Regions from separate parts of the Homo sapiens genome. Here region 1 is linked to region 2. Evidence: promoter capture Hi-C in 16 types of primary human blood cells and fetal thymus (Javierre and others, 2016). All regions are on one chromosome and are shown on one strand. Each heading gives the region's core, a stretch centred on a gene start or on the middle of the fragment in contact. The rest is flanking DNA. Distances are from core to core; before and after follow the strand shown. Region 1 holds the start of THAP1 (THAP domain containing 1). Region 2 holds the start of LSM1 (LSM1 homolog, mRNA degradation associated).

Region 1 (3,429 bases), core at 160-2,659, 4.7 Mb before region 2:
ACTATATTATGTAAGAATCGATATTATCTTTATTTATGAGACAGAGTCTTACTCTGTCGCCCAGGCTGGAGTGCAGTGGTGCAAGCACGGCTCACTGCAACCCCCGCCTCCCGGATTCAAGCGATTATCCTGCCTCAGCCTCCAGAGTAGCTGAAATTCGAGGGCATGTGCCACCACACCCGGTTAATTTTTGTATTTTTAGTAGAGACGTTTTCACCATGTTGACCAGGCTAGTCTTGAACTCCTGACCTCAAGTGATCCGCCCGCCTCGGCCTTCCAAAGTGCTGGGATTACAGGCGTGAGGCACTGTGCCCAGCCCAATATTATTATCTTTAAAGCAAAATTAGGAATGCTTCTGTTCTCAAAATATCGGGATATCTGGACACTTGGTAGTCTGGGTCTGTGTAGTAAACATTATCAATCTGTTGCCTTAATGGTATACACATCTAGAGGCTAGGAATACCTAACTTCCCGGGAATGCAGCCCAGCAAGTCCCAGCCTCATTTTCCTAGCCCTCACTCAACACAGAGTCGCTCTAGTTCGAACCCCTCTAACATATTCTCTCTCAGGTGTGAAAATTGCTGCAGCAGTTCGCTATTTGCAACACAGCACATGGAAATCACAGCAATGGAGAGCCTTCAGAAAAGCTTCTGGGGAGGGACAGCCTGGTGGCTCAACTCCTGTAATCCCAACCCATGGGGAGGTCGAGATGGGAGGATCCCTTGAGCTCGAGTTCCAGACTGACCTGGGCAACGTGGGGAGACAACGCCTCTATTTATTTAAAAAATTACATATATATATATATATATACATACACACACACATATATACATACACACATATATACATACATATACATACATATATATAAAACGCTTCTGCGTTGGCAATTGAGATGATTTGGCGAGTGTGTCTTTTTTCATTGCTAAAAATCTGTCACGTTGGCTCTCACAGAAACTTGTGATACCTGAAGACACAGGTAATGGGATAAAGATTAGCACTCTGGGAAAAGGTTCCACAATTTTATTAATCATACACCATCTGTGTCCGCCCTTTTAAAGAAATGGGCGCAATCAGCCAACGACCTCGGCTTTACACCTGTTCTCCAAGAGGCCCTAGTTGTTCCCTACTGTAAGCTGCCCCAGAAAAGGTCCGCATCAATTAACCCACGGGAACAGCCCGGGGCTGGAGGATGCCCCAGGAATCCGGCCTCCCGCCGCGCCTCCTCCCCCCACAAGCAGTTCCTTCCTGCCTGCCGGAAGCTCAGGGCTCCGCCCACTTCGGCAACTCTGAAGCCACCGCCGGAAACACCTGGCCTCAGCCAATAGTTAGCTTCCCAGGAAACGTTACCTCTGACCTCGGGGCTAATCAGAGACAGTGGGACGCACCCCTCGCGAGAGGTGAGGTTGAAGCTGCCTCCGCCATCTTGGAGATGGGAGACGGGCGATGGCTGTGGTCCTTCTGCTAATGCAAACAACAAAACGGGCACACTAGTCACCCCCGAGGGAGGCCACCATCACTGTAACTGTTGGCCAAAGCTACAAAAGAAGCGAGGGAATCCAACCGAGCGCAGCGACACTGAGAACAGCTTCCCCTGCCTTCTGCGGCGGCAGAAGTGAAGTGCCTGAGGACCGGAAGGATGGTGCAGTCCTGCTCCGCCTACGGCTGCAAGAACCGCTACGACAAGGACAAGCCCGTTTCTTTCCACAAGTGAGGACCCTGCGCGCCTCGCGGGGCCGGTCTCAGCCGGGGTGGGGGCGCGCGGCCGGCGGGGCCGGGGGCGGAGCCAGGCGCGTGTCCGCGCGAGGGGCGGGTGGGGTCTGGGGCCGGCCGTGTCGGGCGTTTCCCACCGCGTCCCGCTGGGAACCGCCGCCCGATCGCGCGTTCTCGGCGCGCGTCGCCGCGGCAGCCGTTTCTCGCGCTCCTGGAACAGGCCCTGGTTGCAGGCTTCGCTCACGGCCTGGGTTGACGCGTTCGGAGCCCACGGGCGATGCCTAGGGTGGCGCGGGTTTTGCCACCACCAGGGTCACAGAGCAGCCAGGTGTTTTAATATGGTCTTAGGGGTAAATTTAAAATAGAAACAAAGGCCTTTAAACGAAGAAATCACTACTTTTCGCCCTTGCCGTGGATGGGAGGCCAGCATCGTAGCAATTAAGGGTTTTTTGGCTGGGAAATCAGGGAGAATTTTTGCCCCCAATCTCTAGGAACTAAGCTTTAAGGACCCTGTATTTTGGAGAAAGCTTCAGGTACTGCCGAGATAAATCGTTATCTTTTCAGCACACAATAATGATAATATGGACAGTTACAACATGGATCATAATAAAATGACTCACACGGATCTTTATTTATTATGGCATTACCTGTGCATAGAGAAAGCTCTTTCGAAAGAAACTGCCCCACAGCTTTCAGAGCTGTCTTATCCAGTAGGTAGCACAGTTAAGTGATAGGATCAAAAATATTCTCTTGAAAATAGGAAAAAAGTGCAGAGTTGTAATTACTTATGATAAACGCTTGTAAAATGTGACATAACATTTTCATTCAGCTGAATTTGTTTACAAATTTTAATTACATTTATGTTAAGTTTTCTTTGCAAGAATTCCTGACAGCTATACGCAGATGATAGGTAAGAAATCAGATCCAGGGGTAAACTATACAGATTAGCCATAGGTAATTAGCTAATTATCTTTTATAATTAGGTAAATAATTACAAAAGCAAAATGTTAAATATCTTTTCAGTTAATTTATTTTTTTGCTGTGGGGCCATCTGTGTTTACTAGGGGAGTGTCCATGCATTTTTTAAATATGTTTGATATCATGTGAGATGGACCCTATAGAAATAAGAGTGTGTAGAACATAGAGAGGTCTCCAGAGTAATAATGTTACCCCTTGGAGAAGGGGATAGAACACTTAGAGGATTCAGTTCAGGATATCCTAATATTATCTCTTGATTTAATTGGAATTTCTGTAAACATGTTCTTTCTAAATGTAGGGAAAGGTCAGGTGATGGTAACAGGATTACATGCCCAGCTCCCCACCCACATTTCTGATGGCTTGGCAGAAGGAATCTAAAATTATGGAAAATGTTTCATTGGCACTGGAAACTAGTTTAAAGAGGGTATTCACACGTCGGAAATAACTGTTTTTGTCGAGGCACGATGGCTCATGCCTGTAATTCCCAGCACTTGGGGAGGCCAAGGTGGGCGGATCACCTGACGTCAGGAGTTCGAGACCAGCCTGGCCAACATGGCAAAATCCCGTCTCTACTAAAAATACAAAATACAGGCGTACGCCTGTAATCTTAGCTACTTGGGAGGCTGAGGTAGGGGAATCACTTGAACCTGGGATATGGAGGTTGCAGTGAGCTGAGATCTTGCCCTGCACTCCAGCTTGGGTAACAGAGTGAGACTCCATCTCAAAAAAAAAAAAAAA
Region 2 (3,429 bases), core at 888-3,387:
CTTTCTAAGGCCAAATAATACTCCATTGAATGAATATATTAACACCATATTTTGTTTATCGATGCATCAGTCGTTATGTCCTTACAACATTCCTGTATTCGAATAAAGAACCAGGGCTCCAAGAGGTTCACTCACTTTATAACTCAAATAATAAAATGACATTTGGGGCCGAGCGCAGTGGCTCACGCCTGTAATCCCAACACTTCGGGAGGCCGAGGGGCAGGGGAAAGGGGGATCACTTGAGGTCAGGAGTTCAAGACCATCCTGGCCAACATGGCGAAACCCCGTCTGTACTAAAAATACAAAAATTAGCCGGGTGTGATGGCCGGCGCCTGTAATCCTAGCTACTCGAGAGGCTGAGGCAGGAGAATCGCTTAAACCGGGAGGCGGAGGTTGCAGTGAGCCGAGATGGCACCACTGCACTCCAGCCTGGGCAACAGAGCGAGACTCCAACTCAAAAAAAAAAAAAACAAAAAAAACGACATTTCTACTTTTTGGCGATTATGAATAATGATGCTATGAACATGGGCGGACAAGCTTTATGTGAACATACGTTATCAGTTTTCTTGGGTATATAGCCAGGAGTGGGCTTGCTGGGTCATAGACTAATTCTAATGCTTAATGTTTTGAGGAACTACCAAACTATTTTCCACCATTTTACATCCCCACCAGCAATGTACGAGAATTTCACTATTACATTTTCAACAAATGAGGATAATTCTTGAACGAACAGAGAGGTATGCTGCCACCGCAGAACGACAACCCACTACCCAGAAGACTGTATTAACAAAGCAGAAGTATATGTCCGGCAGGAAAACGGAGAATAAAATGTTGCAGGTCCAAGTGTATTAGGCAAGTGAGTTAACCTCGCAGAGCCCCGGTTCCTTATTCGAAAACAAAAAAAAGGGCCGCTGTAATGCCATTTTACCTTGCAGTCGCCGTGAAAATTAAATCAGTCAATCCGCGTAAAGGTACTTTACAACACTGATTATTCATGATTCGATCTCAGGCAAGGCATTAGGGGCAAACAGCTAAATGCCCAGATCCCTCCTCCTCGCAAAGGTTCCTTCCCCTCGGGAGGGTCCCTGAGCGGCATCGGGGGCTGCAGCCACTTCCCTTCCCCGGGAGAGCCGGCCTGCCAGCCACGCAGGATAAATTGCTAGAGCTGGAGCAGTAGATCCGTGCCACCCCTACCCAGCACCGCTCCCAGGAGAGAGATCTGCAGCCTGCTGCTAAGCTTAGTAAGTCCGCGCAGGATCTTTCTTTTTTAAATGGTAATAAACATATTTTTTGGGGTCGAAGCAGAAAAGGAGGGGCAAAGGGAACACAAGCATGTCCCCCCAACCTCTGATCTTAGTCTCGGTCTCTCCAACACCCCCCGCAACACACCCTCCTCCACATAAGGAAAACAAGTATGAAACCCGATCCTTTACGAACCCCAGCCCCAAGGGCCCTCACCTCCCCGCAAGGACAGAGGGTGCAAAGCTTACCTGGTGGCTTCCTCCGGCTCGACCAGGCTCTGGCCAGGCGCCTCCCGAGGGATAGTAGCCATCGCCTCCTCCGCCTTCTCCCAGCCAGGTGGTCTCCGCCGGGCCGCCCCCGCGCACCCGCCAGGAAATGGGAGGCTGGGGAGGTTCAGGGCGAAGAGGATATAAGGGTGGAGGTGGGTGTACCGGCACATCTCCACCCCCAGGCCCGTAGTAGCGGCCGTAGGACGGACCGTCACTGGGGCCGTAGCCCGAGCGCCTCAGGGCCGACATGGGATCCGCTGCCCTGAAGCGCTTCCCGCCCCGCTCCCCACGGCCGACCCATCGCGCAGGCGCCCGCGGGCGATTGCGAATGGAGAGCAGCGAAGGGGGTCGGACGACGCCAGCCAATCCCAGGCCCGGGCCCGCCCCTTCTGCTGCCGAACCCCGAAAGCTGAGGGACGGAGGTCAGTGACTCTGGGGTCTCGGGAACCCGGAGACGAAGGAAGACACCGTGTTCCTTAAGAGGGAGTATACGTTTCCTCGCCATTTATCCAATGGAGTTTCCTCTTACCTACTTAACAGGAACAGGGAAAGGGTGTCCCCCAACGGTACGGCTGCCCCGCCTCTTCCTGGGGGCCCACACGTGTTACAGGAAGTGGGTAAGGGTAATATGGAGGAGCTTCCGGCAGCCCCCGGCGGCTGAAAGCCGGGGCAGAAGTGCTGGTCTCGGTCGGGATTCCGGGCTTGGTCCCACCGAGGCGGCGACTGCGGTAGGAGGGAAGAGGTTTTGGACGCGCTGGCCTCCCGCCGCTGTGCATTGCAGCATTATTTCAGTTCAAAATGAACTATATGCCTGGCACCGCCAGCCTCATCGAGGACATTGACAGTGAGTAGTTTATCTCCTCCCGGTGGAGCCCGGGGTTAGACCCTTCCTCCCGGGCGGGCGCCTCTTCCGAAGAAGCTTGTAGAATGAGTCCCGGGCGGGGCCGGTGTGTTCTGAGCTCAATCCGGGCGTTCCGCGTCGATGTCCTCCACAGCTGCGGTACACACCGCTTGCCCACCCAGTAGCCTGCTGCTACTTCTGCCCCTCGCAGCCTCCGCCAGCCCTCTAGCTGGTGAGCCCCAAGCGATGGAACTCATTCTTGCTTCCGTGGATCGCGGCAGCAGAGGCCCGAACACGAAAGAAGCCCGGGGAGGGGGGGGGCTTCTCCCCCGTCCACTCCTGCCTGCAGTATTTCGAAGTATCAGCGTGTTACCGGTGGATGGATCGGAATACCTAGAGAGAGGATTCATTAAAAAGCGAAAATATTAAGACAGCGGCAGTTGGACTTAATTGGCAGTAAATGTAGGCGCTCTACGGTGTGGCCATTTGCTAGCTTATTTTACTGTGAGGGTCATTAGCACCTTCAGGTTATTGTAGTAGAGACCACTGTTAGACATGGTATTGACTTTTCTGGAAAGACCAAATCACTTGCAACCTTTTTTTTTTTTTTAAGACAATTTACTTTTGCTTTTACTAAGAAGACCTCCCTTATTCCTGGTTTTTGTCCGGAAGAGGAGCTCAGTCCTATACAAAAGCGAAAAGAACCGTCTGCAGTTGTTCTGGCTTTCCTTTTTTCTAAATTCCGTCTGTGCATTATTCCTCAAGCAACATTTTTTATTGTTTTAATCATGTGATCTTTCTCATTAACTTGTTTCAAGATGATTTACACATAGTTTTAAATAAGTTGCAATCGTCTCAGTTACTCTGTGAATACGCAATTTAGAATCTATGGTTAAAATTTCATTTTACGGGCCTGGCGCGGTGGCTCACGCCTGTAATCCCAGCACTTTGGGGGGCCGAGGCGGGCAGATCGCCTGAGGTCGGGAGTTCAAGACCAGCCTAGCCAACATGGTGAAACCCCGTTCCTACAATTAGCTGGGCACTATGGCGGTGCCTGTAATCCCAGCTACTCGGGAG

Evidence for each region. The method cuts DNA at HindIII sites, captures the fragments that hold promoters and counts their contacts. A CHiCAGO score of 5 or more calls a contact.
Region 1: the fragment with the promoter of THAP1 here is called in contact with the fragment with the promoter of LSM1 in region 2 in 3 of 17 cell types (non-activated CD4 T cells, fetal thymus and total CD8 T cells); the score reaches 8.9 in non-activated CD4 T cells.

What each region holds. Positions count from the first base shown.
Region 1 is chr8:42,841,305-42,844,733 of GRCh38, reverse strand. THAP1 (THAP domain containing 1) reads left to right here and starts at 1,409. Exons shown (of 3, transcript NM_018105.3): 1 at 1,409-1,710. The coding sequence starts at 1,640. LOC124901940 (a long non-coding RNA gene) reads right to left here and starts at 1,800. Exons shown (of 2, transcript XR_007060901.1): 1 at 1,351-1,800; 2 at 1-967. RefSeq lists enhancers at 1,331-1,690, 1,026-1,816 and a silencer at 1,721-1,810. The HindIII fragment of the contact is 1,565 bases long and covers 650-2,214 here.
Region 2 is chr8:38,175,201-38,178,629 of GRCh38, reverse strand. LSM1 (LSM1 homolog, mRNA degradation associated) reads left to right here and starts at 2,137. Exons shown (of 4, transcript NM_014462.3): 1 at 2,137-2,355. The coding sequence starts at 2,310. It overlaps BAG4 (BAG cochaperone 4), which reads right to left and starts at 1,775. Exons shown (of 5, transcript NM_004874.4): 1 at 1,491-1,775. The coding sequence starts at 1,760. RefSeq lists enhancers at 833-1,172, 2,083-2,232, 1,454-2,311, 2,643-2,732, 2,312-3,169. The HindIII fragment of the contact is 945 bases long and covers 1,488-2,432 here.